Regions from separate parts of the Homo sapiens genome. Here all the other regions are linked to region 2. Evidence: promoter capture Hi-C in 16 types of primary human blood cells and fetal thymus (Javierre and others, 2016). All regions are on one chromosome and are shown on one strand. Each heading gives the region's core, a stretch centred on a gene start or on the middle of the fragment in contact. The rest is flanking DNA. Distances are from core to core; before and after follow the strand shown.

Region 1 (4,034 bases), core at 241-2,740, 330 kb after region 2:
AAGTGCTCGGATTACAAGCATGAGCCATTGCACCCATCCTGAATGTTTTTTTTTTTTTTTTTTTTTTTTGAGACAGAGTTTCACTCTTGATGCCCAGGCTGGAGTGCAAAGGCATGATCTCAGCTCACTGCAATCTCTGCCTCCTGGGTTCAAGCAATTCTCCTGCTTCAGCCTCCCGAGTAGCTAGGAGTACAGGCGCCCACCACCATGCCCAGCTAATTTTTTGTATTTTTAGTAGAGATGGGCTTTCACCATGTTGGCCGGGCTGGTCGTGAACTCCTGACCTCAGGTAATCCACCTGCCTCGGCCTCCCAAAGTGCTGGATTACAGGCATGAGCCACCACGCCTGGCCTCTTAATGTCTTAACTGTTATATCCCAAGCACTTAACTCTCATATCTGGCTCTCAGAAAGACTACAATATATATATTATTAGTGCTGATATAAAGAGATGTCTATGATATATTTGATTTTCTAAAAAAAAACCAAAAAAACAAAAAAAACAAAAAACAGCAAGTTGACAAACTATAGACATAGAGTAGCCCCGCTTTTACGAGAAAAAAAAATTCTATGGCGAATACACCATGCTATTAAAACTGATTTCTGGATTGGCTAGCCATATGTAGAAAGCTGAAACTGGATCCCTTCCTTACATCTTATACAAAAATCAATTCAAGATGGATTAAAGATTTAAACGTTAGACCTAAAACCATAAAAACCCTAGAAGAAAACCTAGGCATTACCATTCAGGACATAGGCATGGGCAAGGACTTCATGTCTAAAACACCAAAAGCAATGGCAACAAAAGACAAAATTGACAAATGGGATCTAATTAAACTAAAGAGCTTCTGCACAGCAAAAGAAACTACCATCAGAGTGAACAGGCAACCTACAAAATGGGAGAAAATTTTCGCAACCTACTCATCTGACAAAGGGCTAATATCCAGAATCTACAATGGACTCAAACAAATTTACAAGAAAAAAACAAACAACCCCATCAAAAAGTGGGCGAAGGACATGAACAGACACTTCTCAAAAGAAGACATTTATGCAGCCAAAAAACACATGAAAAAATGCTCATCATCACTAGCCATCAGAGAAATGCAAATCAAAACCACTATGAGATATCATCTCACACCAGTTAGAATGGCAATCATTAAAAAGTCAGGAAACAACAGGTGCTGGAGAGGATGTGGAGAAATAGGAACACTTTTACACTGTTGGTGGGACTGTAAACTAGTTCAACCATTGTGGAAGTCAGTGTGGCGATTCCTCAGGGATCTAGAACTAGAAATACCATTTGACCCAGCCATCCCATTACTGGGTATATACCCAAAGGACTATAAATCATGCTGCTATAAAGACACATGCACACGTATGTTTATTGCGGCATTATTCACAATAGCAAAGACTTGGAACCAACCCAAATGTCCAACAATGATAGACTGGATTAAGAAAATGTGGCACATATACACCATGGAATACTATGCAGCCATACAAAATGATGAGTTCATGTCCTTTGTAGGGACATGGATGAAATTGGAAATCATCATTCTCAGTAAACTATCGCAAGAACAAAAAACCAAACACCACATATTCTCACTCATAGGTGGGAATTGAACAATGAGATCACATGGACTCAGGAAGGGGAATATCACACTCTGGGGACTGTGGTGGGGTGGGGGGAGTGGGGAGGGATAGCATTGGGAGATATACCTAATGCTAGATGACGAGTTAGTGGGTGCAGCGCACCAGCATGGCACATGTATACATGTGTAACTAACCTGCACAATGTGCACATGTACCCTAAAACTTAAAGTATAATAAAAAAAAAAACAAAACTGATTTCTGGGGCTGAGATTATGAGAAACTTTCATTTTCTATTTTACATATTTCTGTATTTCTTTTGATAACCAGAAAACACAGATGATAAACCATTTTTAAAGCCATTATAAGGTCTCTGCTACCTATAACTCTGAAGCTGTATTTTCTGGATAATTATAAGTTTACTACCACTTTAAAAGCCAAGAAAACAGACATTTTAATTATTTCAGATGGTAATAGTTCTAAAGTATCTACTTTTATGCCTTCTTAAATGGCACTTAATGTTCCCTAAATTTCATTCCTTGATGGATAAGATCGTTACCATCATTTTGGTTCTTTAATACATTCAGAGCCTTTCTAATGCATTGCAGGTGGGCCATACTATTGGTTCCCCACTCAGCCTTCAAGGCAACAGGGCAGGGCCCAGGGAAGCCTGGGCCAATCTTCTCTGGCCATCAGCTGATGGCCAGCTTACCCCAACATTCAGTGCAAATACTATTATGTTCTCTGTGTGTCAATGGCATAAGAAAAGGTTGAAAAGCACTGTGGTACAATGATTGTGCTATGAGTTTTTTTTTTTTGGTGGGGGGTGTGGGGGACAAGGTCTTGCTCTGTCACCCAGGCCGAAGTGCAGTGGTGTGATCACGGCTCACTGCAGCCTCGATCCCTCAGGCTCAAGCAATTCTCCCATGTCAGCCTCCTGAGTAGCTGAGACCACATGTGTGTGCCACCATGCCTGGCTAATTTTTAAAATTTTTTGGTAAAGAGTGAGTCTACCTGTGTTGCTCAGGCTGCTCTCAAACTCCTGGGCTCAAGTGATCCTCCTACTTTGGTCTCCCAAAATGCTAGGATTACAGGTGTGAGCCACTGCACCCACCTATATTATGAGTTATTTTATCATTTTTCTGATTACCTGACATTCTTATGTGTCAACTTACATGTTGTCACAGTTTGCTGCTTCTATTTTGCAGTAAGCTCAGACACTGAACAGAGTTTTAAAAAAAATGATGTAAGAAATAAGCATAATGGCTTTGAATAAACCTGAGGAACTTTTCTCTTAGAAAAATAATGAGCTTTAGTGCATGGACTATGTGACATCTCTTCTGGATGTTTATCTGTCCCAGAATAATTGTAGTAATTCCTTATTCTCAGGTTCCCAATAACTGCAACTACTAGATGGCCAAGTTCCAAATATCTAAGGTGCTATCATATGCCTGCATTTTAGGTACATCTTTCCTAAAAATTCTCAATGCTTTCTTTGATACACACTAGGAAAAGGACTCAAGTGGATAATTCACTTTGGACCTTAGAGTTAATTATTATCAATTTAGTGACTTGTGTATAATCAAACAAAATGTACAGGCCCACCATTGATCTAGAAGTTTGTAGGGGAAACAAAGGATGGCATAATCAGAATCCTTTTGCAACATACGCTTTGATTGTTTAATGTGTATTTGTCTGAAAACAGTTTAAGATAACATATTGTAAAGGGAAAAAGTAAGTTATAGACTACAGGTATTCCCAAAATTGAGAAAAGAAAGAAAATTGCCATGGACTGTAGTAGTCAGGAGGAATCTCATTATAGTTGGGTTTAGAAAGACAAATAGGATTGCAGAGATAAAGAGAAAGGGAAAAGACAACTTCAAGGACAATCATGTTCTTCTACTAACACTTTTCGTACCTACCTACTGGTAGAAAAATAACACAAGTATGGTGCAACACTTACTGGTCATTTTCTGTATGTCAGATGCTTTATTATTATTACCATTTTTTTTTTGAGGGGGAGTCTTGCTCTGTCGCCCAGGCTGGAGTGCAGTGGAGTCCACCTCCTGGGTTCAAGTGATTCTCCTGCCTCAGCCTCCCAAGTAGCTGGGATTACAGGCACCTGTCATCATGCCCAACTAATTTTTGTATTTTTAGTAGAGATGGGGTTTCACCATGTTGGCCAGGCTGGTCTTGAACCCCTGATCTCAGGAGATCTGCCTGCCTTGGCCTCCCAAAGTGATGGGATTATAGGCGTGAGCCATTGCGCCCAGCCCAGATGCTTTAAAACTAATCAATACAACTTCATAACCCATCAGCGAGGGACAGGGAGGAATGGTGGTGGGTAGACATAAAAACTACATGGAGCATGATTTAAAATAGTATGGTAGTTCTCATATTTTTTTAAATAAAAACTTGAAATGAAGAAAAGGGATGTACTGTAACTCAC
Region 2 (4,016 bases), core at 1,319-3,818:
GGCATGTAATCCCACACTCGGCTAATTTTTGTATTTTTAGTAGACGGGGTTTTGCCATGTTGGCCAGGCTCAAACTCCTGGCCTCAAGTGATCCATCTGCCTCAGTCTCCTAAAGTGCTGGGATTACAGGCATGAGCCACTGCACCCGGCCTAATATAGTATCATTAGCTTCTTAACAAATGGCTTGCACATACTTTCGTGGGTCCCAAGCCGTCCTGCCCTGCTACCCTGGGAGGTGTCCAGCTAAGGACTCTCGTCTTTTCTGCTGGGCAGAAGCAATGAGTACAGTGGTTAAGGGCATGGCCTCTGGAATCAGGCTGCCAGGGTTGGAAACCTAGCTCTTCCACTTTGCCAGGTATGCGAATTTGGGCAAGGGTCTTGGTCGCACTGTGCCTCAACTTTTTCGTGTACAAAATGGGACTAATAACAGCACCTACAAGTTATATTATTGGTAAAGATTAAATGAAATAGTACAAGTAAAGCAGCTAGAAAACTGCTGGGCATAAATGCTATATACATGCTAGTTATAATTAAGACATGCCACAATGTGGGCCATTGAGTGGGACAGGTTAAACTAAGCTAGTAATCTAATCACTTTTATAAACACTCTGAGGATTAGAGCTGGAGGAGCTCTTAGAATTTATGCAGTTCAACCTCCTCATTTCACAGATGAGAAAACTAACTGCAGCACAAAAGAGAGGAAATGACCAGCCCAGAGTCCCACAGGTGGTAAATATCAGAACCACTAAAACTCAAGTCTCACTGGAAACATCTAATTTTTTCCCACCATACCTCAATGCAATTCTATCAATACTTTTAATGGGGAAAGAAGTTTGTTTTCTAAATAAGCAAGCTAACGACAAACCATTGTGACAGGACTGATGAAGTTGGGAGTTGCCAGTATTCTCTAGATGGCCAGCTGTTGTTTCAGGTGTGTGTGGGAGTGAGTCTGTAGGAGGGAGGGTGCTGGAGTGGCACTGTGAAAATCAGGAGACTAATGAGACGGGTAACTTTAGACAAGTTCCTTCCCTTCTCTGGACTGCAATGTCCCCATATGATTACGGAAATCAGGTGTACCCAACTAAACTAGAGGCCCTTTTGGGGCAAGAATTTTGCTATACACTCTCAGGTTCTAAGTCAACCTAGAGGGCCTGACTCAGTACTAAATAAGGCAGACACCTGAATAATTATTGACTGACAAGCTTCAAGTCTCCCTCAGGTCTCTACTCAAATGCCACCTTTCAGCAACATTTGTTTTCTTCTCGATCCACCCTTTTTACAATGGCAAACCCCTTCCCACCTGCTCTGTTTTTCTCTACTTAACACCCTCAGACATATCATATATTTTACCCCCACCCCCCGATATGTCTGAGGGCAGGCACCTCATCTGTTTTGCTCACTGCTGCATCCTCAGCCCCTAAACACTGCCTGGCAGCATGTATTTTATTGACTGAATCCATAGAGGGCATTAAGGTTTCCTAATCAACATTTCAACTTGGATTTCAAAGCACATTGGTAAAAATGCAATAAGCATATATAAGTGTTTGTGTCAATGTGATAATAAAACCTATACAGTTTGGGGCTTTCATTGTCACCAAAAACGTCCAGAAGGCCATTCCTTCCAGGAGCTGCTCCTAAGGAAGTCATTAACTCCCAATTTTTCACAACTGCCAGGTTGATTAACTAGAAGTTACCAAACAGGGTGAGGGATATACACAACTCTCTGAAGTATCTTTGCAACTTTTCCATAAATCTACAATTACCCTAAAATATAAGGTTTATTAAAGAGAGTGGGGTGGGGGGAGCATCTGCCGGGATGCTATTCTGGATTTCCCAAAGGATTTCTTCGACGCCAGAGGAGGTCATGAGCGTCACGTCCTTTTTCAACAAGGACTGAGATGTTTAGAGGTTCCCTTCAACTTCCACTCGCAAGAGCCACCCTTAGACAGTGAGGATTGGCGCGGCCTCGGGCAAAGAGCCCCGGCGCGTTCTCAGCTCGCCTGGACTTCGGTCGTGGTCCCCGCCGGCTCTGGCGCCTCATTTCCTCCCGGGCTCACAGGCGACATTCCGGGCGCTGACCCACGGCCCTCTGACGCCGTGGGCATGTTTCGGGCCCCCCGCCCCCGCACGCCTGGACGCCAGCCTCCTGGGCTCTTCCCACTACAAGTCGCAGCCCTCTTACTTCGCTGCCGCCACCTCCGCCGCACCCGGAGTTCGGGAAAACCCCGCAGCTCCCGGGTCCCACCTCGAACCGGCCCCAGTACCGGGCCCCAGAGATCCCGCGCGGGAAGCCGCAGCCGCCGAGCGCGGGGCCTCGCGAGGGCAGCCCCCAGCACCCACCCCAGCTTCGGCCCTCCGCCCGGCGTTGACCTCCGGGGCCTTTCAGCCGTGACCCTCACCGCCCTCAGCCCTCCGGCCGCCCCTCGGGCCCCGAGGGTCGCACTCACCCGTAGGCGCGGCGCCCCCGCCCCCGCCCCCGCCGCCGGCGCAGAGCAGCAGCGCCCACAGCCCGCAGAGCCGCGCCGGCCACTCCATGCAGCCTCTCGCCTCGGAGCCCGGCCGGGCTGGAGCCTTGGCAGTCCCCGCCTCCTTCGCTCCCTCTTCCACTTCCCGGCTCCGCCGCCCTGGAGGCTGGGGGCCGGCGCAGACGGGAAGGGCCGCCCCGCCCACCGGCCTCAGGTAACCTGAGCCGGCGAGAGCGGCCGGAGGAGGCGGGGCGGGGCGCCGGCGGCTCTGGCGGCTCTGGCGGCTCCTACGGCTCCCAAGGCTGGACACCTGGCCCACCCGCAGCTCCCGCGTCCGGTCTCTGACCGAACAAAACTTCTTCCACCACGTCGCCGCCCACTCCGGGCGCTGCCTGGGCCTCCTCCCTCCGCGTGGCGGAGCCGGCGTCGCCGCTGCCAGCACACTTGCGGGGCCTCGGAGGTGCTAGGGGCTGTGCCCTGCTGGACACCAGGACAGAGTCATCTGCGGAAAAGAGCCTTGGCCTGGGAGTCTGGAGACCTGGCTTCCAGCCCTTGACCTCTGAGCCCTTGTTTGCTAGCGCTGACTCCAGGGTTAGTAATACCAGCCCTACTTCACTGGGTGGAGTTGGGGACACTGGCAGTACTGTGCTTTGTGAAAAGGACAAAGGGCATATTTGAAAGCTGGCAATACATAATGTTGATTTTAAAAGGAACATTCCAAACATGAGGGAGGATACCATACGTGCATTTTTTAAAGCACACGACAAACTTTCTACATATTTTTCAAAGGGATGGGAGGTGAATCGGAAGAATACACATTGATACTTGGGCGCCTATGAGGGTCAGTGAGGCTGGGAGGAAGGAAAACAAGAGTCCTTAGGCGTTTCCTGTTGCTGCTGTCAAAAATGACCACAAATTTAGTGATTTAACAGTTTTATTTTATTACAGTTCTGGAGGTCAGAAGTGACACTGAGCTTAAATCAAGGTGTGGGCAGAGATGTATTCCTTCTGGATATTCTAGGGGAGAATCTGTGTCTTTGACTTTTCCAGCTTCTAGAGGCTACCCACATTCCTTGGCTTGTTGCGGAACTACTCAGACCTCTGCTTCCCTTGTCGTATCTGACTCTGACCCTCTTACTTCCCCTTTTCCCTTATAAATACCCTTGTGATTAGATTAGGTCCACCAGATAATTCATAATAATCTCCCCATCTCAAAATCCTTGATTTAATCATAACTGAAAAGTCATTTTTGCTATGTAAGTTAACATATTCACAGGTGTTGGGGATCACGATATGGAATCATGGGAGGGGGACATTATTCTATCACCTTCTCCCAAAAAAGAATCATGTCTAGGTGGATGATGAGACCCATAATGAGGTGTATTTTGGCCGAATTAAGCCAATGCATATACCTGAAAACAGTTACAAAAAGTATAGCAATAAAAATGCTGATAATATACCTAGTCTAGACCCCACCCAAAGGGCACAGGGTTGTTTAACCTATTCACAACAAAGGTTCCACTCTTGGAATTAAGGCTCTCAAACTCAATA
Region 3 (4,246 bases), core at 695-3,194, 290 kb before region 2:
ACTAGCTCCAAACATCAAATCTGATAAACACAACACTCTGGCAACATAATGTCCATTAAGTGAGTGCAGAAAAGACCATCTGGTTTCTGCTTACATGCATCTTTTTTATGTTGTCTGGATCATCTCATTCTCCCTTTCCTGTTTCTAGCTACAGGTGGTGATGGGAGAAGTAAGAATTACACTCTCACCTTAACAGAGTGATGGGCTGTGAATGAATGATGCAAAAATCATTCACTGTCCAAAATCACATGGTATAATTTGCATGAAGGTACTAATGGCACAATTCACTTCCTCCCTGCTCTAATCGTTTCACTCTGCCATTATAACACTCCCATACTTGTGGTACTTTACAGGCTGTCCTGCCACTGAAGGACTCAAACTAGCACTAAGCAAGCTAAATCAGGGCTTACTCTTACTCCTCACCCTATATTCTCCCCATACATTGAAATATTTCACCCATGCAACTAGAAGCAAAGGCAGTACTTAGGTAAAATAATAGATTATCTGGTTCCCTTTTTTTTTTTTTTTTTTTTTTTTTGAGACGCAGGTTTGCTCGTTGCCCAGGCTGGAGTGCAGTGGTGCAATCTCGGCTCACTGCAACCTCCATCTCCCAGGTTCATGTGATTCTCCTGCCTCAGCCTCCCAAGTAGCTGGGATTACAGGCATACACCACCAAGCCTGGCTAATTTTGTATCCATTTTTAGTAGAGACAGGGTTTCATCATGTTAGTTAGGCTGCTCTCGAACTCCTGACCTCAAGTGATCCGCCTGCCTCGGCCTCCCAAAGTGCTGGGATTACAGGCGTGAGCCACCGTGCCCGGCCATCTGGTTCCTTTAAAAAGATTTTTATAGGGTTCTACTCTATTTGTCTTATTTACATTTTAATAATAAAAAGTCCTTATCAAGTGTTTCTGTCCAGGTCTTGATCCTCAGAACCCCGGGGAGAGGTGGGTTATGGAGGCTAGTTGGGCATGACTGTGATGTGCTAAACTGAACACCATTTCCTCTGAAGAGTTAATTATGATCCTGCCCAAAATCCGATTCCTAACTGCACTGGGGAAAAATTAGATACACGTACAATTAGATTGCTGAAGTAAATGCCTATAATAAAAATAATTCTTTCAGCTTTGTTCTGTATTACACACAGAAAATGAATTATTTTACTTTACCTTGGCATATACCATAATCTAGGCCAAATCCCTTAAGTATTTTATATTGTTTAGTTCAAACTGAAAAAAAAAAGTGGACTCTGAAGACAGATGATCTTAGCATCATTCTGAACTTCTTTTAAGCATCCATTTGGATAGATACGGAAATGGTCTAAGAACTAGTGTCATTGTAGTAAAAAAAAGATAAAAGCAAAAACTGCACACTTCTAGTATTGTTATTTCCCCCTAGGTACATGGTAAACCACATCAATAAATAAAGCAATGGACTTTTCAGCAATGTACGCTTAAATAGTTACAAACATACATGTAGAAAAAAGGATACAGTAGTGCAAAAAATAAATTATTAAAACAGAAAGAAGTATGAACATTATTTTACACAATGCTCTATAAAACCTGAACCATTTGGAATGAGACCTCAAGTCAGTGAAATTATACAGCAACATTATTAGTATCTTTGTTTTCACATTTCAACCACACAGTCATTGATCTATGAAAGAAAGAATATTAAAGCAAAACCACTTTAAACTTTTGGAAATTTTAATGTTAAAATCAAATTATGTTTTTCTGGGCTCTTAAACACCTCTGCTGTTTATGTAGTTATGCAGCATGTCAAGAAGCATCTTAAGACAGAAAGTTTCAAATAGGTCACATTCTTTTGGTCTTTCTACTCAATTTCTCTCTGTGATCAACAGCAGGCTGATGCCTCTGTTTGACACCCCCTTCTGTTAAGATATTATTGCAATTAGATATATTTACAAGAAGACTCCCCCCGACGGCAGTGGGGAAGGTGGGAGCTCCTCTTCGGCAATCCACTCACTAGTTTTGGTTTCGGGATATGAAGGCCAGGACTCGTCGAATACCATTCAGTCTGTCCTTTAAGGACCTCATTGCTAGGAAGGGGAGCTGAGCTCGGCTTTCCAAGGGAAGAACTGCTAACATCCACCAGCACCAGGCTGGGCCATTCGGGTTCATCTGCAACAGAGAAACACAATGGAGTCATCCTATTCCCATCCAAGAACATCAGTCTGCAGAGTTCCAAATGCTCAAGGTAAAGACCCCAGGTAGAACAACTCCATGTGGCAGATTGCTAATTGACCCTATATCTATTTTCCCCCTTATTTTAGCAGGGCATATAGCCACCCAGAAAAAAGACTGCATTTCTCAGCTTCCCTTGCAGCTAGGTGAGGCCATGAGACAAAGTTCTGGCTAATGAGATGTAAAGGGAAGTGATATGTGTAACCTCTTGGTCATGCTCTGGGAAAGAAGCATATGCCCTCTGCCTTCCTCTTTCTCTCCCTTTCCCCTAGCTAGAACATGGACGTGGTGAGGATCAGCCTTTCTCAATCAAGAGGATGAGGGAGACATTTTAAGGATGGTAGAGTTTTGTGATGAAGGAGCCTGGGTGCCTGAATGCTCTTGTGGAATAGAGCTGCCCTAACTGTCCAAGACTTAGCCCCTCCATCTTGTTTAAGCTCCAGTCATTTTTGTTTCTTGTTAAAGCAAACCAACCAGTATCCTAACAGATACACCATGCCTCCTAGCCAATGTGATTTTACAAGCTGGTATCTACTATGTAGTCTCTTCCACTTCTAATATTCTGTTGAGGTCCTTTGGACTGATGCATTTAACATTCAGGCCTTCGATTCCCATGACCCCTTGACCTTTGCATGTCTTTTAAGTCCCCTCATTTCCTTGATGTGGCTGAAGGCAATAGTCCATGTATACCATGTCACTATACAGGGCCATAGCTCTCTTCTCCCCTGAAACCAAAGGCTATGATTTACAGTCCCAAAGAATCACAATCTCACTTTGCAAAAATTCCAATTAGAAAACATTCACATTAGAAATATATTCTGCCCCAGGGCCGGGCACAGTGGCTCACGCCTGTAATCCCAGCACTTTGGGAGGCCAGCGGGTGGATCACGAGGTCAGGAGATCGAGACCATCCTGGCTAACACGACGAAACCCCATCTCTACTAAAAATACAAAAAATTAGCCGGGCGCGGTGGCGGGCTTCTGTAGTCCCAGCTACTCCGGAGGCTGAGGCAGGAGAGTGGCGTGAACCTGGGAGGCGGAGCTTGCAGTGAGCTGAGATATGCCACTGCACTCCAGCCTGGGCGACAGAGCAAGACTCCGTCTCAAAAAAAAAAAAAAAAGAAAGAAAGAAAGAAAGAAATATATTCTGCCCCTAGATTTCCTTTTAATAAAGAGCTTTCCCATTCCACATAAATCCTTCCCCAAAGCAGCTTCCCTGGCACATATTTTAGACATTGGGTACTTATTTCCTTCTAAGCCTAAAACGAGCTTTCTGCCCACAACTTTCACAAGTTTGGTTTTAGGACTATAGAGAACCATTCTGGTCAAAGTGCCTACACCTGAAATTATTTGGCTCCAAATTGGTTCCTCTGATCGTCACCAAATCTCACTGCCTTCTTTGCTTCTTTGTGCCTCTAACTTCATTTGCATTCTTTTTTGTCCCTCCCTGAAGCTGGCAATATGCTCTCCCTCCTATGATCAGTTCTGAATATTAGACTGATGTTCTGAACTTTCTTTCCAAGGATCACCAACAAAGATATTTAAGCTGGTATTAACACTTGTGGCAGTTTCTAAGAAACATCCTCCTGACAGAACATGCTTATTTGTGGGACCACTGGGGATGCAGCATTGACTGGAGCAAACTGGGATGGGTATGGGTTTTTCTTTTTTGCTGGTGCTGCTGCTGCCAAAGCAACATAATAACAGAACTAAGAAAAAAGGAAGTGAAACCCAAGATTTCAACTTTCTCTGTCATTAGCCTTTATGAATCACACTGTAGCATCTGTGTTTTCCCGTTACCATTGCTGATCTGTATCTTTTGCCTAAGGGAGAACGCTTCCCGGAAGGTGAAGGGGAACATTAAGCTTGATCGTGAGTTTGCTCAGAGGTATATGCTGCAGTCCTGACTCATCGTGGCCCAGAGCCAGGAGCTGGGTCACAGGAAGCACTAACTGGCCTTTCTCCCTTGAAAACTCATGATGCCTTTGCATGGGGGGGGAAAGAAGCCACCTTTGTGGTCTGAGGAAAGCAAGACATTTCATT
Region 4 (4,221 bases), core at 419-2,918, 360 kb after region 2:
CACTCCAGCCTGGCGACAGAGCGAGACTCTGTCTAAAAAAAAAAAAGAGGTTTATTATTTTAGCTCATGGTTTTGCAGGCTGTACAAGAAGAATGGTACCAGCATCTGCTCCCGGTGAGGGCCTCAGGAAGCTTCCAATCATGGAATGCAAAAGGGATGCATCACATAGCAAGACAGGAAGAAAGTGGGGGAGGAGATGCCACCCACTTTTAAACAACCAGATCTTGCGTGAACTCAGGCCAAGAAGTCATTCATCGTGAGGACAGCACCAAGACATTCATGAGGGATCTGCCCCATGACTGAAACACCTCCCACTAGGCCTACCTCCAATACTGAAGGTCACATTTCAACATAAGAATTGGAGGGCACAAAACATCTAAACCATATGTTTTGCAAATATTTTCTCCCAATCTGTAGGTTGTCTTTTCACTGTTGTTTCCTTTGCTGTGCAATTTTATCAGACCAATTTTAGTCTGACACAATCTCATTTGTGTATTTTTGCTTTTGTTGCCTGTGCTTTTGGGGTTAAATCCAAAATATCATTGCCTAGACTAATGTCAAAAACAGCAAAATTTTGATTTTGCAGCATAGTTTCTGAAATTGAAGACAGTGTCTATCAATGCTGCCAATGAATTTAAACACAAAAAGCAACGTCTGAAACAGCTTCAAAATAAATTCTGATTCAAATAAGTACTGATATTCTACTAAAAAACCCACATGGCTTACAGATCAAATACTAAAATTATTTAGTGTGTCTTCCACTTAGGTTTTGAATATAAAGGCAATTTTAAGATTAGTACTTCAGCAACTTTCAATATAAATAGAACATTTTAATGCATTATATCCTGTTTTCTATTAGAAAGTTATTTTCGGCTGGACGTGGTAGCCCACACCTGTAATCCCAGCACTTTGGTGGCCGAGGCGGGCAGATCACAAGGTCAGGAGATTGAGACCATCCTGGCTAACACGGTGAAACCCCATCTCTACTAAAAATACAAAAAATTAGTCAGGCGTGGTGGTGGGCGCCTGTAGCCCCAGCTACTCGGGAGGCTGAGCAGGAGAATGGCGTGAACCTGGGAGGCGGAGCTTGCAGTGAGCCGAGATCCCGCCACTGCACTCCAGCCTGGGTGACAGAGCAAGACTCCATTTCAAAAAAAAAAAAAAAAAGGCCGGGCGTGGTGGCTCACACCTGTAATCCCAGCACTTTGGGAGGCCGAGGCGGGCGGATCACGAGGTCAGGAGATCGAGACCACCCTGGCTAACACAGTGAAACCCCGTCTCTACCAAAAACACAAAAAATTAGCCGGGCATGGTGGCGGGTGCCTATAGTCCCAGCTAGTCGGGAGGCTGAGGCAGGAGAATGGCGTGAACCCGGGAGGCGGAGCTTGCAGTGAGCCGAGATAGGGCCACTGCACTCCCGCCTGGGTGAAAGAGTGAGACTCTGTCTCAAAAAATAAAATAAAATAAAAAAGAAAGTTATTTTCATACACTAGTACACTAGCTAACATTTAGTTTATATTAACAAAGCTCATGTCTGAATATAAAATAGTTTATTACATGCTTTCTCCAGTCCCTATTCATTTAGCATTTTAATTATAGAAATTATTTTTGGCCAGGCATGGTGGCTCATGCCTGTAATCCCAGCACTTTGGGAGGCCAAGGTGGGTGGATTGTCTGAGGTCAGGAGTTTGAGACCAGCCTGGCCAATGTGGCGAAATCCCATCTCTACTAAAAATACAAAAAGAAAAAAAAAATTAGCCAGGTGTGGTGGTGCACACCCGTAGTCCCAGCTACTCAGGAGGGTGAGGCAGGAGTGTCGCTTGAACCCGGGAGGCAGAGGTTGCAGTGAGCCGAGATCCACCGCTGCACTCCAGCCTGGGTGACAGAGCAAGATTCTGTCTCCAAAAAAAAAAAAAAAAAAAAAAGGAAGAGTATGTGGATTGCTACTTCATATGATTAGTGGCATCACACAGAGGCCTTTCCAGTCTCCCAACACTTCTCCCCTCTAGCTGCCCTGTGATGTCATGCAAACCTTTCCCAAAGGCCCTTGGTAAACACTGCTGGGAGAAGCAACAAGAGAGGTCATCAACATCCATGTATCAGCCAAGACAAGGCTTCAGAAGGAGCTGGAGGAATGCGGAAAGGTCCTCAAGAAGTATATATATATATATATATATAGTCACTATTTCAAAACATGTATGTGGCTTCAAAACACTGTTCTGGTGATTTTATAAAACGGTATAGGAATTAGTTTTCTTTTACAAACTCTGACCTGATTCAGCGATAACCTACAGATACCTGAAGCAAAATTTCATAATAAGGTCATTACTCCCAATGATAGGAGCCTAGTCACTGATGCGATGACAATAACTGCCACTTAACCAAAAGTTGCCCACTGATTTTTCCTTGGGAAGCAAAATGTCAAATCCTTTATAAACTCTGACATAATAGTACTGCATTCAATACAACTGAAGCAAAAAGCACAAGTATGCAAGCAAAGGGAACATTTTAGTAACCTTCTTAGATGGCTACACTTTGGAACTTGCTAAACCTGACTCTCTAATTTAGTATGTTGAGAACAGTATGCATGTACTTTATAGAAATAAATACCAATCTAACAGAAAATATATAACAGTAGTCTATTTTTAAAGAGATTTTGATGCAATATAGCAACTGTGGTTTTTCTATAACAGTTATTCAAAGTGAGCATATTACCTACTGATGTCACCTAGTGTTAAAGAAATTTACAGTAATCCTTTTCAAAATCCTAAAAGGATTTTAAAAAAATCAGTCAGAAGGCAAGAGTACTTTTTTTTTCAGTGTTTGAAGGAAACTTAAGAATCATTTAGATCAACTGTCTCATTTTACATGTGAGGGAAATTATGCCATCGGTTAAATTAATCCATTAATTCAACATTTACTGATTGTTTCCATGTACCTGGCATGGTCCCAGGTATTGAGTATAAAGTAGTGAACAAAACAGACATGGTCCCTGCCATCTTAGAACTTATGCTAAGGCCTAGTGAAGACTAGGACCCAAGTTTCTTTGCTGGTTCTAATAACCCATGCAGCCTCTCTACACTAGTAAGTCTAATGTCCCTTATGGTTTCACATAGGTAGGTAGCCAGTCAAGTGAAACTGTGACCCTTTAGTAAGGCCTTAATTTATCTACAAGTACTACCACAAATTTCTCAGGGAAAGCTTGGGGGTCCCAGAGACTGAAAGGACAACATGACATCAATCTGAAAGTACAAGAGCTATAATTTTAGCTACACACACACAAAAAAAGAGCAGAATCAGGAGACCTGAGTTTTAGTCCCAAATCTGCCAGTAAAAATCTATGTGACAATAAATATTTAGGGGGAGTTTTTCCAACATTTACTTATGGCTATTTCAAATATATACAAAATTGGGAGAATAATATTATAAACCCAAATATACAACATGTTGATCATGTTCAACAATGATAAAAATATCAGTACTCCTCTTCCACCCCTCTGCCAGATTATTTTGAAGCAAATCCCAGAAACCATTTCATTTTTTTTTTTTTTTGAGACGGAGTCTTGCTCTGTTGCCCAGGCTGGGGTGCAGTGGCGTGATCTCGGCTTACCGCAAGCTCCGCCTTCCAGGTTCACGCCATTCTCCTGCCTCAGCCTCCTGAGTAGCTGGGACTACGGGCGCCCGCCACTGCGCCCAGCTAATTTTTTTGCATTTTTAGTAGAGACGGGGTTTCACCGTGGTCTCCATCTCCTGACCTCGTCATCTGCCCGCCTCGGTCTCCCAAAGTGCTGGGATTACAGGCGTGAGCCACTGCGCCCGGCCGAAACCATTTCATTTTTAACCATAAATATTTCAGTATGCATCTAAAAAGGACAAAGATTTCTCTTTAAAACATAACCACAACACTACTATAAAATTTAACAATTCCTTATTATATACATTAATAGATTATATATATTATATATAACATGCTGTTATATAACATTCAGACTTCCCAGACTGCCCAAATTTTTGTACGTTTGGTTTATATCAATCAAATACGGTCCATATATTACAATCAGTTGATATGTCTCTTTCGATAAATCAGCAGGTTCCCCTTCAATCTCTCTTATTTCTTGCAATTCATGTGTTGAAGAAAGTAGGTTGCTCATCCTGTAGAATTTCTCATGTCTGAATTTTGTTGATTGCATCTTCATGGTGACATGTCAGAAGAAATATTTT
Region 5 (3,964 bases), core at 834-3,333, 270 kb after region 2:
TGATCTTGAGATTTATTGTATCTTTATGGTACAAATACTATGTAACAGTGCTACAGTGCACCATGTTAGGTGATGTCACATTGTTAGCTTAAAATTGGCCACCGTGGGAGTATTTACACCATGGAAATTAGCAAATATTACAAATTTATTTTTGGTTTTTTTTGGAGGGTGGACTGTGAAACATTTACTAGTACACCACTGGCTGTAGGCCTTGGGCAATTCGTGACCCTACTTGTCTGTCTCTTGGCCTTTACCTGAATGAGTTAGCTGCTTAAACTTCTATTCCTAGCTCAGGGATTCTTAAAGTTGTTGAAAACAGGTTCCTGCATCCCTTCTCCAACAGACTGTGATTCAGTGCACGTTAAACTAATTCCCAGGTGCTTCTGAGGAAGGCATAGCAGACCACAATTTTAGAAGTCCCCATGGGGTTGAAAGGAGATGACTTGGAAAAAGGAAAAACAAAATATCCTGCTCTTGACGTTAGTGCACAAGAGTGAAAGCTTTCATAGAATTGCTTATAAGCTTAAAATAACTCCTTTCCCTAATGAAGGTGCATGGAAGCTTGGCTGACTTAATGGTTTATCTAACGGTTTATTCGACTGATTAGTGAATGACCATGTTAAGGCAAAAACTGACCCAAGGAAGTCAGTTTCCAATGTCTCTTCAATTACTCTTTTTCATATTGTTGTATGCACTGCAGCAGACTCAATTCAGATCAAATATTTGTTGAACATTACTTACAAGGACCTGTGATTGACTTTCACACGTATTCTATGGGTGAAATCACTCCATAATAATCAATAAAGTGGAATGATTCTCTTCTGTATCTGCTTCAACTTGATCTCCTGTGGATTTTGAGGCTTCCCACCACCTTCCACTCCCATTGCCACCTGTGTCCGTCCCAGCTGCTGCTGCTTCTCCAGTTGTCTGTACCTCTCGCTGCCATACCACTTCATCACTCCTGCTCTTGCCACACACAGAGCTTCATTCTGACCAAGTGTGCCTTTCTTTTTTGCCTCATGCAAAACTCACTCTAGAGAAGACTGTCCTAATTAAGGACTCTGACTTAACAAGGGTAGGTTCAATTTAAGTTCACTTTGGCCATACTTAAAATAGTTGAGTTTTTTTTCCCCCCCGAGACAGAGGTCTCACTCTGTCGCCCAGGCTGGAGTGCAGTGGCACCATCTCGGCCCACTGCAACCTCCAGAGGCCTCCTGGGTTCAAGCAATTCTCCTGCCTCAGCCTCCTGAGAAGCTGGGATTACAGGTGCGTGCCACCATGCCCAGTTGATTTTTGTATTTTTAGTAGAGACAGGGTTTCACCAATGTTGGCCAGGCTGGTCTCGAACTCATGACCTCAGGTGATCCACCCGCCTCGGCCTCCCAAAGTGCTGGGATTACAGGTGTAAGCCACCGTGCCCAGCCAATAGTTGAGTTTTTACTAATGTTCTAGGCTTAGAAAACAGATTCAGTTCTAATTTGCACTGCTTCACTTTGTTTTGTAAACAACTTAGGTTTCATGGTTCACTAAAAACTTAATATTTGCAACCTGCTCAGAGGTTCAATAGAATAGCGCAATTCTTTCTTGCTTCTTGGTCCCCTTTCTGTTTGGTTCTGGTCCTAAGAGAAGCAAAGCACTGACATCTGTTGCAATGTTCCTCCCCCTCTCCAAGTAGGGATGGTGAAAATCTAAGGCATTTTCTCCTAGCAATTTTAAATTATGCTTTTGGTCTTCTTATCCAAATAATATACACTGCAGTATTTTAAATGTTGGGTACCACCTAGAGGAGACAGTGTATACTGATCCAGTTGATGAACATATTTTGAGAAAAAAAAAATCAGGGAAAATGCTTCTCAATATACCGATCTTGTAATTAGATGTTCTAGGAGTAGAACTCAGTCACTGATTGTGCCATTCTGATGCCACAGAAGATCACAAGTTATGTCAGCAGGAATTTGAATAAATGAATGAGAAAGTGAGGAAATCCTCAGCTGCACTGTTTCTGAAGGACTGCCGGCAAGCACATGGACCACATGGACCATCAGAGTTAGAAATCTTAGTCCAAGGACTTCATTTTAATAGACTTGCAGAGAACTACTTATCTTTCCTGAAGTCACAAGGCCACCACAACCAGGACTACAAATTGGGGTTCCCAATTTCTATGCAGGAATTTCTTGTAATTCATACATCGCTTATTCTTTTTTTTTTTTTTTTTGAGACAGGGTCTCACTCTGTTGCTCAGGCTGGAGCACATGGAGCACAGTGGTGTGAACATGGCTCACTGCAGCCTCGACCCCCTGGGCTCAAGCCATTCTCCTGCTTCAGTCTCCCTGTTCGCTGGGACCACAGGCATGCATCACCACGTCTGGATTTTTTTTTTTTTTTTTTTTTTTTTTGTAGAGACGGAGTCTCACCATGTTGCCCAGGCTGGTGCTTACTGTTAAGAGTTCATGCTTTGTACTTTCATTTTAAGGACCTACCACCTTCGATCAATAATTGGAAATTCTGACAAGATATATATTTCTCTATCTCTGATTGTTATTCACAGTGATAAAAAACAGGCACAACCTGAATGTTTGATGGATTGCTTAAATTGTGCCCATATGATGGACACTACCTCAGCCAGGTGATAAGAACGTACCCTCGATGTGATGTAATGAAAAGAGCAATTCACTTCCTTAAAGTCCACAACCCCAGCTGAATCATGAGAAAAACATTAGACAAACCCAATGTGAGGTACATTCAACAAAATACTTGACCAGTACTCCTCAAAACTATCAGGGTCATCAAAAGCATGGAAAGTCTGAGAAATTGTCACGGCTAAGAGGGGTCTAAGGACACATGATGACCAAATATGGGTAAAAACTAGTGAAATCTGAATAAAGCGTGGAGTTTAGTTAATTATACCAATATTGGTTCCTTAATTGAAAAATATAACATGGTATCGTAAGAAAAATAAGGGAATATAATTACTTATTTCAAAAGTCAAGTGTATTCATTTTAATAGACTATTGGTTGCTCTAAGATTATGTGATAGTGCTTGGCCTATGTTTTTAGCATTAAAATGTTTTATCTTTTATGAAGTGGGGATAGTAGATGGTGTCTGTTAAAAAAGTGTTAAAAAATGTCTGTGCCCTATGTCAATCCCTAAAATGCTGTGTGTCCATGAAATCCCTATGTCTAGAAAGCGTTTCTGGCTGGACGTGGTCGCTCGTGCCTGTAATCCCAGCACTTTCGGAGGCCGAGGCGGGTGGATCACCTGAGGTCGGGAGTTGGAGACTAGCCTGACCAACATGGAGAAACCCCATCTCTACTAAAAATACAAAATTAGCTGGGCATGGTGGCGCATACCTGTAATCCCAGCTACTTGGGAGGCTGAGGCAGGAGAATCGCTTGAACCCAGGAGGCGGAGGTTGTGGTGAGCCGAGATCGTGCCATTACACCCCAGCCTGGGCAACAAGAGCAAAATTCCATCTCAAAAAGAAAGCGTTTCCATATATCGTCTTTTTTTTTTTTTTTGGTCTGAGAGAGTACTCACGGATTTGCGAGAGGCAGCAAGAAATGTACATCTGTTGAGTATACCTACTGGTTAGGCACCAAGCTTTACACATACATGATTTCTTAGCAAATCTTTGCAATTTAAGTTAGGTATTCCCATATTACAGATAAGGAAGTAGTAGTAATGTAGGATAAATAACTTGCCCAAGGAATGTGCTAACGGGAAGGAAGCAAATCCAAGTTTACCTGACTCTAGAACCTGTGATCTTTTTTTTTTTAATAATACCATATCACTCGTTATAGAGAATATCTAAAACTCATTTTAAAGAGAAATAGTGTTCTTTTTTTCTATATATTTTGATGCTACCTTTTAAATTCAGTGTATTCATATAGCAATAACAAGTGTCAGTATTATGCTTTTTTTTTTTTGAGACAGAGTTTTGCTCTTGTTGCCCAGGCTGGAGTG

What was found. Contacts are between HindIII fragments. The CHiCAGO score rates a contact against its expected background, and 5 or more counts as called.
Region 1: a contact is called between a fragment that was not itself captured here and the fragment with the promoter of IL13RA1 in region 2, in 2 of 17 cell types (total CD8 T cells and total CD4 T cells). The highest score is 5.8, in total CD8 T cells.
Region 3: a fragment that was not itself captured here is called in contact with the fragment with the promoter of IL13RA1 in region 2 in 1 of 17 cell types (monocytes); the score reaches 5.8 in monocytes.
Region 4: a contact is called between a fragment that was not itself captured here and the fragment with the promoter of IL13RA1 in region 2, in 1 of 17 cell types (neutrophils). The highest score is 5.8, in neutrophils.
Region 5: a fragment that was not itself captured here is called in contact with the fragment with the promoter of IL13RA1 in region 2 in 2 of 17 cell types (neutrophils and total CD8 T cells); the score reaches 8.4 in neutrophils.

Annotation. Positions count from the first base shown.
Region 1 is chrX:118,398,471-118,402,504 of GRCh38, reverse strand. All of the region lies in intron 8 of WDR44 (WD repeat domain 44), which reads right to left. Among named protein-coding and RNA genes, the nearest start is that of MIR1277, 14 kb to the right of the region's middle. The HindIII fragment of the contact is 5,488 bases long and covers 1-4,034 here.
Region 2 is chrX:118,726,158-118,730,173 of GRCh38, reverse strand. It overlaps IL13RA1 (interleukin 13 receptor subunit alpha 1), which reads right to left and starts at 2,568. Exons shown (of 11, transcript NM_001560.3): 1 at 2,448-2,568. The coding sequence starts at 2,535. RefSeq lists a silencer at 2,530-2,959. The HindIII fragment of the contact is 2,975 bases long and covers 1,205-4,016 here.
Region 3 is chrX:119,015,429-119,019,674 of GRCh38, reverse strand. It overlaps LONRF3 (LON peptidase N-terminal domain and ring finger 3), which reads right to left. Exons shown (of 11, transcript NM_001031855.3): 11 at 1,320-2,140. The coding sequence ends at 1,985. Among named protein-coding and RNA genes, the nearest start is that of LONRF3, 43 kb to the right of the region's middle. RefSeq lists a silencer at 4,115-4,174. The HindIII fragment of the contact is 4,253 bases long and covers 1-4,070 here.
Region 4 is chrX:118,366,417-118,370,637 of GRCh38, reverse strand. All of the region lies in intron 1 of WDR44 (WD repeat domain 44), which reads right to left. Among named protein-coding and RNA genes, the nearest start is that of MIR1277, 18 kb to the left of the region's middle. The HindIII fragment of the contact is 3,070 bases long and covers 134-3,203 here.
Region 5 is chrX:118,450,922-118,454,885 of GRCh38, reverse strand. No RefSeq gene overlaps it. Among named protein-coding and RNA genes, the nearest start is that of DOCK11, 43 kb to the left of the region's middle. The HindIII fragment of the contact is 3,040 bases long and covers 564-3,603 here.